Regions from separate parts of the Homo sapiens genome. Here regions 1, 2 and 4 are each linked to region 3. The links are contacts of gene promoters, found by promoter capture Hi-C in human tissues and cell types (Jung and others, 2019). All regions are on one chromosome and are shown on one strand. Each heading gives the region's core, a stretch centred on a gene start or on the middle of the fragment in contact. The rest is flanking DNA. Distances are from core to core; before and after follow the strand shown. Region 1 has its middle 19 kb from the start of LINC02925. Region 2 overlaps PPARA (peroxisome proliferator activated receptor alpha). Region 3 holds the start of TRMU (tRNA mitochondrial 2-thiouridylase). Region 4 overlaps CELSR1 (cadherin EGF LAG seven-pass G-type receptor 1).

Region 1 (2,700 bases), core at 116-2,615, 220 kb before region 3:
CACCTCACTGCAACCTCCGCCTCCCGAGTTCAAGCGATTCTCCTGCCTTAGCCTCTCTAGTAGCTGGGATTGCAGGTGTGCACCATCACGCCTGGCTAATTTTTGTATTTTTTAGCAGAGACGGGGTTTCTCCATATTGGGCAGGCTGGTCTGAACTCCTGACCTCAGGTGATTCGCCCACCTCAGCCTCTCAAAATGCTGGGATTACAAGCGTGAGCCACCGCGCCCAGCTGGGTCTGAATCTTTAACAGTTCCCCTCCGCTCCTGGAGCCCCTCCCACAGCCAGCCCTTGCTCACCAGCGGGGGAACCAACAGCCCCTTCCTCACCCTCCTGGGGGTTGGGGTCTCTCTCCACAATACCAGTGCCGGGACGCATCCCTCGTCTTCTCTGCTCCTTTCCGTTGTCCGGAGGCCTAGGCCCAGTCATCCAGCCAGCCTCCACCCAGCTCCTCTCCCTGCACACAAAGACTGACCCCATCAAGCTGCACTTCCTGAAACACACCCACAAACCAGAAACTCAGCCTCCCCTTTGCCCGCAGGATGCCCATGGGCAAAACTGTCACCAAGAGAAGAGAGGAGGGGCCCAAACCGGCTCTGTCTCTGTGGAGAAAGAGCCTGCCTAGGGCTGGACCCTGGTTGTGTGGCTTCAGGTATGAGTCCCTTCCCCTTCCTAGGCCCCAGTCCCCTCACTGCACACCTAGGGTGATGACATGTCATGGCCCAGGGTTAAGAGCACAGACTGGAGTGGGACTCCCTGGGCTTTACTTCTGGCTCTGCTGCACACTGGCTGTGTGACTCTGAATGAGTAACCTAGCCTCTCTGTGCCCGAGTTTCCTTGTCTGTTAATAGGGATCAAACAGAATATAACATCAAGGTCATTAAGAAGAGTCAGTAAATTAATGTTTATAAAGTATTTATTATTTTTATTTTATTTTATTAATTTTTTTAGATAGAGTCTCACTCTGTCACCCAGGCTGGAGTGCAGTGGTACAATCTCGGCTCACTGCAATCTCTGCCTCCTGGATTCAAGTTGAGTGTCATGCCTCAGCCTACTGAGTAGCTGGGATTACAGGCCCTGCCACCACACCCAGCTAATTTTTTATATTTTTGGTAGAGATAGGGTTTCACCATGTTGGCCAGGCTGATCTCGAACTCCTGACCTCAAGTCATCCGCACGCCTTGCCCTCCCAAAGTGCTGGGGTTACAGGTATGAGCCACTGCGCCCAGCCAGAATTATTATTTTTTTTTCTTGCTGATTTGAGTCCCTTGTAGATTCTGCGTATTAGTCCTTTGTCAGATGCATAGTTTGCAAACATTTTCTCCCATTCTCTAAGTTGTCTGTTTACTTTCATGATTATTTCTTCTGCTGTGTAGAAGCTTTCTAGTTTAAGTAGGTCCTGTTTATTTTTGTTTTTGTTGCATTTGCCTTTGGAGCCTTCGTTATAAATATTTAGCCTAGGCCAATGTCCATAAGAGTTTTTCCTAGGGTTCCTTCTAGAATTTTTATGATTTCAGGACTTAGGTTTAAGTATTTAACCCATTGTGAGTTAATTTTTGTATATGGTGAGAAAGAGGGATCCAGCTCCATTCTTCCACATGTGGCTATCCAATTTTCCCAGCACCATTTATTGAATAGAATGTCATTTCCCCAGTTTATGTTTTTGCATACTTTGTGGAAGATCAGTTGGCTGTAAGTGGCTTTATTTCTGGATTCTCTATTCTGTTCTATTGGTCTATATATCTACCTTGATACAGTGCTTGGTACCAGTAGACACTTCCTTGATACTGTCTTGATTACTACATCCTTATAGTATAATTTGAAGTTGGGTAAGGTGATGCCTCCAGATTTGTTTTTTGCTTGGGATTGCTTTGGCTATTCAGGTTCTTTTTTGATGCCATATGAATTTTAAGGTTGTTTTTTCTAATTCTGTGAAGAATGATGTTGGTATTTTGGTTGGAATTGCAGTGACTCTGTAGATTGCTTTGGGCAGTATGGTTACTTTCACAATATTGATTGTTCTAGTCCACGAACATGGGATGTATTGCCATGTGTTTTTGTCATCTATGATTTCTTTCAGCAGTGTTTTATAGTTCTCTTTGTAGAGATCGCTCACCTCCTTGGTTAAGTATATTCCTAAGCATTTTATTTTTTGTGTCTAGGTACTGTAAAAGGGATTGAGTTCAAACTCCTGACCTCAGGTGATCCATCCGCCCCAGCCTCCCAAAGTGCTGGGATTACAGGCGTGGACCAACCTGGTGAAACTCCATCTCTACTAAAAATACAAAAATTAGCCAGGCATGGTGGCGGGTGCCTGTAATCCGAGCTACTCAGGAGGCAGAGGCAGGAGAACTGCTGAACCTGGGAGGCAGAGGTTGCAGTGAGCCGAGATCGCGCCATTGCACTCCAGCCTGGGCAACAAGAGCGAGACTCCATCTCAAAGGTAAAAAAAAAAAAAAAGGGATTGAGTTCTTGTGATTGTCAGCTTGATCATTGCTGGAGTATGGCAATGCTACTGATTTGTGTACATTGATTTTGTAACTTGAGACTTTACTTAATTTATTTATCAAATCTAGGAGTCTTTTGGAGTAATCTTTGGCGTTTTCTAGGTATAAGATCGTATCGTTGGCAAACAGATATAGTTTGACTTCCTCTTTTCCAATTTGGATGCCCTTTCTTTCTTTCTCTGGCCTGATTTCTCT
Region 2 (2,700 bases), core at 194-2,693, 160 kb after region 3:
TGGGTTTGGCTATAAAAGGCACCATGACCACTGATTGGTGATGGAAACATTATGTATCTTGATGGTATCAATGTCAGTATCCTGACTGTGATATCGTCCTCTCACTTTGCAAGATGTTACCCTTGGGGAAAACTGGAAAGAGTGCTGGGGATCTCTGTATTATTTCCTAAAACTGCACGTGAGGCCAAGGCGGGCAGATCACTTGAAGTCAGGAATCTGAGACCAGCCTGGCCAACAAGGTGAAACCCCATCTCTACTAAAAATATAAAAACGAGCCAGGTGTGGTGCACGCCTATGAACCCAGCTACTCAGGAGGCTGAGGCAGGAGAATCACTTGAATCCAGGAGACAGAGGTTGCAGTCACCTGAGATTGCACCAGTACACTCCAGCCTGGGTGACAGAATGAGACTCTGTCTCAAAAAAAAAAAAGTAAAAAAAACTACAATTATCCAAAAAATGTTTTAAGTTAATTTTTAAAAGTACTAAAAGGGAGGAAAATTAGGAGTGATTTTTTGTTTGATTGTTTTTTTGATACAGGGTCTTGCTCTGTTGCCCAGGCTAGAGTGCTTTAGTGTGATCATGGTTCACTGCAGCCTCGAACTCCCAGGCTCAAGCAATCCTCCTACCTCAGCCTCCTGAGTAGCTAGGACTACAGGCACGAACCATGATGCCTGGATAATTTTTTAAATTTTTGTAGAGACAGGGTCTCACTATGTTTCCCAGGCTGTTCTCAAACTCCTGAGCTCAGGTGATCCTCCCACCTCGGCTTCCCAAAGTGCTGGGATTACAGGAGTGAGTTACTATGTCTGGCCAACAGTGGTATTTTAAGAACAGGTGATCTGTTCTTCAGGTTTTCTGCTCTGCAGCTTTCAGAATCCAGACATGGTAAACATAGCTAGGATATATAACATAGAAACTGTCTCTTTTATTTATTTGCTTGCCTTTTAACTTTTTATTTGGAAGTACTTTCACTTATAGAAAAGTTGCACCCCCAAAACAGAGTAAAGAACATCCTAACTTTACCCATATTCACTGGTAGTTACCAACTTAACCATCTGCTTTATCATAATTTCCTTCCTTCCTTCCTTCCTTCCTTCTTTCTTTCTTTCTCTCTCTCTTTCTTTCTCCCTCTCTCTCTCTCTCTCTCTCTCTCTCTTTCTTCCTTCTTTCAAGACAGAGTCTTGCTCTGTTGCCAGGCTGCAGTGCAGTGGTGCAATCTCGGCTCACTGTAACCTCTGCCTCCTGGGTTCAAGCAATTCTCCTGCCTCAGCCTCCCGAGTAGCTGGGACTACAGACGTGCACCACCACGCCCAGCTAATTCTTTGTATTTTAGTAGAGAGGGTCTCGATCTCCTGACCTCACAATCCACCCACCTCGGCCTCCCAAAGTGCTGGGATTACAGGCATGAGCCACTGCACCTAGCCCATAATTTCTTTCTTTATAGGTATGTATGTATATATGTGTATGTGTGTGTGTATTTGAGGGTGAGTTGCATGCCTCATGGCCCTTTCTCCTAAATACTAAACTACACGTTTGCTAAGAATGGCAGTGTGCTCCTACACACCACAGAACACTTCGCTTCTGTTAATTTAACAGATACAGTTCAATCTATGATTCGTATTCAAATTTTGTTAATTGACCCAATAATGTCCTTGATAGCATTTTTCCTCCTTCAGTACTGGATGCTGTTCAGAGTCAGGTATTACATTTTATTGTCTTCTCTCTTTTAATCTGAAACATTTCCGCAGCTTTTCTTTGTCTTTTATGATACTGACATTTTTAAGGAATACCATTTCCAAGCTTTCTTCTTCCCCTTGGCAAACAGAATGTAGCAGCTGCCTTAGTACTGACTTATAGTAACTTATATTGTGACAGATATCTGCATAGAAGAATCCACAGTTAATAAGAACCTCTAACTCGAGGTATATCCCATGTCCCATCCTGAAGCTGGGTGCTTAAATAGGCTCCCAGCCTCTCTAACAACTTGTACGCCCTTCATTTTGCCAGCTTGCCAACTGGAAATGTGTCCAAGGCTTTCTTATTTGGAACTAGAGGTTCCCAGAGCTACATTCCTATTCAACACAACAAATAAAAGAAAACTAAAAACATAACTGTTTTGTAAATCCCCAAATAAGAGAGTGAAAAGAACAGCCACAACATCTACCCGATAGCATGACTTTAAGCAACTCAACATAATTCAAACATTTAGCAAACATCGGTTAACAATAAACCAAGTACCTTCTGCAAGAGCTGGTTGCAGGACAAATCCTTTTCTAAAGGGACAAAGATGAATGCAACTTAAAGTGACAAGAACACTAAGGGAGCAGAAGCAAGCCATTTAAGGGTAAAAATGGAATTTTCTGCTATAAAGTAAAGCTCTGCATAAAAATAAGACAGAACAGGAAATCTAGTAAGGGTTTATTCATAAGACCCCATGCTGAGGATTTCAAGGAGACAGTCACGTTTCTGGGTAACTGACTATGGGATTGTCCCTCATGGGGCCAAGTAACCTGTCAAAGCAACGAGGCTTCCTACTCAACAAGCCCTGTGGCCACCCTGCCAGCTGGAGGCTCTATCTGAAGCCTGGAAACAGCTGTCAACATGCCTTGAATCCAACAGGTCCCGATGTGACCTCGGTCTTTTACCTCCGCACAAAGTTACGGCTTATGGCTGTTTGGACAGTCTGGTTTGTCGATCGTT
Region 3 (2,874 bases), core at 281-2,780:
CCTTAGCAAACTACACAGGTGCAGACCCTGTATGAGAAAGCTGGTTCGTTTAGGTAGGCTGAATGTAATGAAAGACAGGGCAAATGACTGCTGAAGAAGGCTTCATATAGTACCCAAAACAACAGAAATTTGATGACAAAGCTTTGTCAAAACTACACCACCACACGCGAAAGACCACCCCTATCCCAGATCAACCAGACTAATGTCTACCTAACAGTCTAAAGCCCCTGGTATAGCATCTTCCATAATCAGGGCTAAACGTGCTCCAGGCTCCTCTCCTTCCATCTCCATCTGGCCAGAACCAGCCCACACTTGCAGGCCTCTGTGATTCTGCTTGCACTGCTGACTGTGCCGGGAGGGCCGCCTCCACCTCCAAGTCTCTGCTTAGTGACATCCTACTCTTCTTTCGACTCAGCTGAGCACCTCCATCTCTAGGATGCTTTCCTCCACTCTCCCTTCCTCACAACTATTTCTGCTTATGGTCCGCCTACCCTTCTCTTTGGCACTTACTGTACCTACCATAATAGCTATGGTTATTAACAATATAAACTAATAGCCACTACTGTTTTCTGCGTACCTCGTATGTGCTGAGCACGTACTCATCAGTATGTACTATGTCATCTAATCCCTCCAGTCACCCCGTGAGGCAGGTGTTAGCCGAATTTTACAGGGGACGGCTTAATTCACTTGCCCAAGGTCAGGAGCCAAAGATGGCGCAAAGCAGAGCTCCACAAACGTGACTCTGTGAATGAGGCCTCCCGCGGGGAGCCACACAGGTGAAGTTAAACAAGTGCTCATTTCAGCGCCGGGCCCGAGGAATGCTAAGCACCCGTGGGGCTCCGTTTAGATGCCGGAAGAAATGCAAATGCTCCTGGAGAAAACTTTGTCCTCCAGCGAGCGGAGAACACAGGAGACGCTGAACAAGCAGACCCGCCGCGCGGCAGTTGTCCAGTCTGCTGAGTGGGGAGGACAAGGACCTCCCACCGGGCGGCCACAGCGTGTGCAGAGGTCAGGCCCCCGGCCCGGCGATCCCAGCTCCCCTCACCAGTGTCCACGGTCTCACAGGTGAATGTGGACGCCGCAGATCCGTGAGAAACCCTTCCCTCCCCACCCCACCCCGGCCCGCCGGCTTCTCACTGTGGGTGGGCGCGCGTGGGTGGAGAGGGGCGCGGAACTGCTCCCAGGTAGTCGGAGCTGCAGTCGCGCACACCTCCGACTACACAGGTGGAGGGCGAGGAGCCTCCGAACCAAAGTCAGAGGACGGGGTATCCTCCTGCCGACCCGCGCGCAACCAGCGGCCCAGGGAGGGAGGAGACGTGCACAACGCCACGACGGACGGGGACAGGTTTCCGGGGACACATTCGCTCGGCGGGGGGCGGGAGCCTCGGACGCCTCACCTCTCCGCCTCAGCAGCAGCGCGGCCACGGCGCTGTCCACGCCGCCGGACAGGGCGCACACGACGTGCCGCAAGGCCTGCATCCGCCAGTCGCCCAACTTCGCCAGCTGCAGCTACCGCCGCTTCCGCGCCTTGCCGGAAGTCCCGCCCCGGCCGTAGGGTCCGCGCTAGTGGCCCGGCCGGAAGCTGCGGCAGCTTACCCGCGTTCCGTCCGGCCTTCCCCTGTCCCGCGGCGGGTTCCCCTGTCTCCGGCCTGCGCTCACCCCTGAGGCTCCACCGACCCGCGGGGCGCCGAGACTCTGTCGGGCCGCGAGGGGCTGGCTTTTTTTTTGAGCCGCCGCCTTGCCCTCCCCACCCGCGCCCCGGCCTCACTGCTCTTCTTCTGCGCTGTAAACCAAAAATAAAATTCTAAGCCCCCCAGCCAGCCATTGGAGGCCTCCTCTCGGCCAAGGGCGTCCTAGAGGGAACCTGAACCGCGAGTTCGGGCTCTGATGGGAAAGGCCGGGTGGGACCCGCCTCACTAGACCCTCCTCCTCCCTTTGGAATTCGGACCAGCATTAACGTCAAAACAGACTTAAGACTGTCTAGGCGGACTCTCCGTAGCAATAGGATACCGACATGACAGATGGCAGGCCCTGAAAGATATCGAAGTATTTTACAGTATTTTAATTTAATTTAATTTTTAATTAATTAAATTTTTTTGAGATGGAGTTTTGCTCTGTCGCAGGCTGGAGTGTAGTGGGCGCGACCTCGGCTCACTGCAACCTTCACCTCCAAGATTCAAGCGATTCTCCTGCCTCAGCCTCCCTAGTAGCTGCGATTACAGGCGCCCGCCACCAAGCCCAGCTAATTTTTGTATTTTTAGTAGAGACGGGGTTTCACCGTATTTGCCAGGCTGGTCTCTCACTCCTGACCTCAAGGGATCCGCCCACCTCAGCCTCCCAAAGTGGCGGGATTACAGGTGTGAGTCACTGCCCCCGGCCCAGAAAATCTTTGAATCCACCTATGACCTGGAAGCCCCACCCCACCTTCGAGTTGTCCCACCTTTCCGGAACCAATGTTACATCTTACATGTATTGATTTATGGCTTATGTCTCCCTAAAACGTACGAAACCAAAAGCTGTAGCACCACCAGTTTGAGCACGTGTTCTCAGGATCTCCTGGGACTATGACATGAATAAATATCTTCAAATCTTTTACAGTTTGACTCCAAGCATACTCAGCACTCAATCCTTAATGTCTGTGAGGTGTGTTGGACAGGGGTTTTGTGTTCTGTCCACTCCTACTCCATGCCCAGAAAAGCCCCTGGCCCAGGGCAGGTGCTTCATAACCTCGCTGAATAAAGGAAGGAGGAGAGAATGGAGGTCATCCCCCAGGGGTGATATTCAAGCTGAGTTCTTCTCTACGAGTTAGCATCTAGACAAGGTCTACCTAAAGCACAGGGAGACTCTGAACGAAAAAGATGTTCATTTGTGAAT
Region 4 (3,008 bases), core at 163-2,662, 170 kb before region 3:
TCTTCTCTCCGAGTGCCGTGGCCTGCGGGGACCTGCTCCCGGGGTGCACACTCTTGTGCAGCTTGCTGTCTCCCGGGAATTATGTTAAGGTCAGCAGTGGCTGTACCACCTCTTACGGAGCATGCTTCTTTAAAAACGCCTTGCTGCCGATTTTGGCCACGGTGGTTTAATAGTTAATGTTAAGGGGGAACAGTTAGAGAGAGTCAGGAGAGTGTGGGGCTATGATCATGGGGTTCATCTGTCACTTGCCTGGTGACCTCAGGTTTGTCACTCAGCTTCTGAGAATCTCGATTTCCCCATGTGACAGTGGGGTGGTGAGACCAATTTCACAGGGATTTGTAAAGCACAAAGCAAAGTATTGGCCATGCCACTGGGGCTTCGGAAGAGTCAGCTTTGTCACTAGTGACTTTGATCACCAGTTTCTCAATAACGTCCCTCTCTCCCTCCCTCCTTTTCTGCGTCTTTCCCTCCCTCTCTTCCCTCCTCTTTCTCCTTTCCTTCCCCTTCCCTCCCCTTTCCCCTTCCCTCTTCTTTCCACTTTACCCTTCCCTCCCCTTCCCTCCCCTTTCCCCTTCCCTCTTCTTTCCACTTTACCCTTCCCTCCCCTTTCCCCTTTCCTCCAACTTTCCCCACCTCCTCTCCCCCTCCCTACCCTCCCCTCTTCCTCCCCTCTTCCTCCCCTCCCCACCCTCCCTTCCCCTTCCCTTCCCTTTCTTTTCTTGAGATGAGGTCTCACTCTGTCACCCAGGCTGGAGTGCAGTGGCACAATCATAGCTCACTGCAGCCCCGACCTCCTGGGCTCAAGTGATCCTCCCACCTCAGCCTCCTGAGTAGCTGGGACTGCAGGCTTGTGCGCCACTGTGCCCAGCTACTTTATTTTTTCTGGAGATGGAGCCTTGCTACATTGCCTGGACTGGTCTCAAAATCCTGGGCTCAAGGGATACTCCTACTTTGGCCTCCCAAGGTGCTGGGGTTACAGGCCTGAACCACCACGCCCAGCCCTGTTTTCTACAGGGCAGTTTTCTGAGTAGTTTATAAAAATGTAATGAGCTTCCTCTGCTCCTTCAGAATGAAGTGAGTCACATATTACTCCCTGGAGGGTGCAGATCAGATGATTTTTCTTTGTTTTCTCTTCAAGACAAGGAAGCCCATGACTGTGCCAGCGGGGGAACTCTTCGGGAATTCTTTTTGGGGAATTACTCTTGGAGTTCATGGAAAGATCCATTCTGCTATTGCTCATCTGAGATGTCAGTGTTGAAGGGAGTGATGTTTGGCATTTAAAAACAAATAACATTTCAGATCTTTGTTGCATTGACTGAAGGAAAAAAAGCACATCATACAGTGTTTTGGCTCACAGCTTGTTTTCAGCTTTCAGGGCTGGATATTTGCGTGTTTCCGTAGGTTCCTATGAGATGCCACTTCACGAAAAGGTCTCCTATTAGCTTATTTAAATGTCTGTTTAAAACTTTTCTTAGTGGGGCAGGGCGCGGTGGCTCACACCTGTAATACCAGCACTCTGGGAGGTCGAGGCGGGTGGATCACCTGAGGTCAGGAATTTGAGACCAGCCTGGCCAACATGGTGAAACCTCGTCTCTACTAAAAATACAAAAATTAGCCCGGCGTGGTGGTGCATGCCTGTAATCCCAGCTACTCTGGAGGTTGAGGCAGGAGAATGGCTTGAATCGGGAGGTGGAAGTTACAGTGAGCCGAGATCACACCACTGCACTCCAGCCAGGGCAACAGAGCGAGACTCTGTCTCAAAAAAAAAAAAAAAAAAAAAAAAATTAGCCGGGCATGATGGCGGGTGCCTGTAAGCCCAGTTACTGGGAGGCTGAGGCAGGAGAATTGCTTGAACCCGGGAGGCGAAGGTTGCGGTGAGCTGAGATCATGCCATTGCACTCTAGCCTGGGTGACAGAGCAAGACTCTGTCTCAATAAAAAATGAAATAAAATAAAATAAAAAATAAAATAAAATAAATAAATAAATAAACTTTTCTTAGTGGAAACATCTTAACATTTCAGATCTTTGGGTCTCTGGAGGGGTGTTAGAAACAGGGTTCTCAGCACTTGGCATGTAAATGGGCTGATTTTCGGGTCCCATCATGGGCGTGCTTACAAGGACAGCTCTGCCCGCAGATGGGGGATGTTCTGAGCCTGAGAGACGCAATGTAGTGGCCTGACCTGCTGCTGGCCTCCCGGGCAGCTCCAGTTGTGGGGACACGGTGGTGAGCTTCATTCTGAAACTGCAGTCAAAGGCTCCCAGGTCACCCAGAAAACAGACCAGATAATTATAATAAAGTAAGAAAAATGGCATCTGACAAAAGGCCTGCAGAGTCATTGTTGTAAACTCCCCCAGAGATCAAAAAACACAGGTGTGGGCTAGCTCGGGCCTCTGTTCTTCTGTGACAAGTTATGGGTGTCATTGACGCCCCCTTTGGAAGCTCCCAGAGCTCCCAGTGGCCTTTGTGCTCAGAGCCCATTCAGCACACCCCAGTCATCTGAATAAGCCCAGAGCCTTGCCATTGTCCCCATGGTTGCCCATCAACCGTTCGCCCTCCTGCACCGACTGCCAGTTTCCATGGTTACCGCCACCGCTGTAAATGTGATCTCTGCGCCATGGGGGAGGGGGCTGTCAGCGGCTCCATATAAAAGGTCATCTCCAGCAGGCAGTTAAAACCTAGCGCGGTGCTGAAAACCGGGCGCCAGGGTTTTGTCGCAGTTATGTCCCTTCCTTGAGTCCTGCAGACACCGTGAGCCCAGCTTTCCTGCTGAGCAATGCTGGGAGGACCAGGGGCTGGGGTGGGATCATGCTGGGAGGACCAGGGGCTGGGGTGGGATCATGCTGGGAGGACCAGGGGCTGGGGTGGGATCATGCTGGGAGGATCAGGGGCTGGGGTGGGATCAGAGCAGAGAGTCCGGACTCACAGAAAACAACCCGTTTGGGAAGATAAGCGGGAGAGGTCGCCGCTGAGCCTTGAGCCAGGCATGGGGTGGAAATGGACATTCAGG

The links. The method cuts DNA at HindIII sites, captures the fragments that hold promoters and counts their contacts. A contact is called where the count stands out against the background at its distance.
Region 1: a fragment that was not itself captured here is called in contact with the fragment with the promoter of TRMU in region 3 in 3 of the 25 tissues and cell types used here (dorsolateral prefrontal cortex, lymphoblastoid cells and mesendoderm cells).
Region 2: a contact is called between a fragment that was not itself captured here and the fragment with the promoter of TRMU in region 3, in 1 of the 25 tissues and cell types used here (mesendoderm cells).
Region 4: a fragment that was not itself captured here is called in contact with the fragment with the promoter of TRMU in region 3 in 2 of the 25 tissues and cell types used here (IMR-90 fibroblasts and mesendoderm cells).

What each region holds. Positions count from the first base shown.
Region 1 is chr22:46,558,692-46,561,391 of GRCh38, reverse strand. No RefSeq gene overlaps it. Among named protein-coding and RNA genes, the nearest start is that of LINC02925, 19 kb to the right of the region's middle. The HindIII fragment of the contact is 5,201 bases long and covers 1-2,700 here.
Region 2 is chr22:46,172,647-46,175,346 of GRCh38, reverse strand. All of the region lies in intron 2 of PPARA (peroxisome proliferator activated receptor alpha), which reads right to left. Among named protein-coding and RNA genes, the nearest start is that of PPARA, 23 kb to the right of the region's middle. The HindIII fragment of the contact is 6,276 bases long and covers 1-2,700 here.
Region 3 is chr22:46,334,370-46,337,243 of GRCh38, reverse strand. It overlaps TRMU (tRNA mitochondrial 2-thiouridylase), which reads right to left and starts at 1,530. Exons shown (of 11, transcript NM_018006.5): 1 at 1,398-1,530. The coding sequence starts at 1,479. RefSeq lists a silencer at 1,083-1,132 and enhancers at 941-1,440, 1,273-1,492. The HindIII fragment of the contact is 7,028 bases long and covers 1-2,874 here.
Region 4 is chr22:46,499,976-46,502,983 of GRCh38, reverse strand. All of the region lies in intron 1 of CELSR1 (cadherin EGF LAG seven-pass G-type receptor 1), which reads left to right. Among named protein-coding and RNA genes, the nearest start is that of CELSR1, 36 kb to the left of the region's middle. RefSeq lists an enhancer at 1,666-2,640. The HindIII fragment of the contact is 7,187 bases long and covers 1-3,008 here.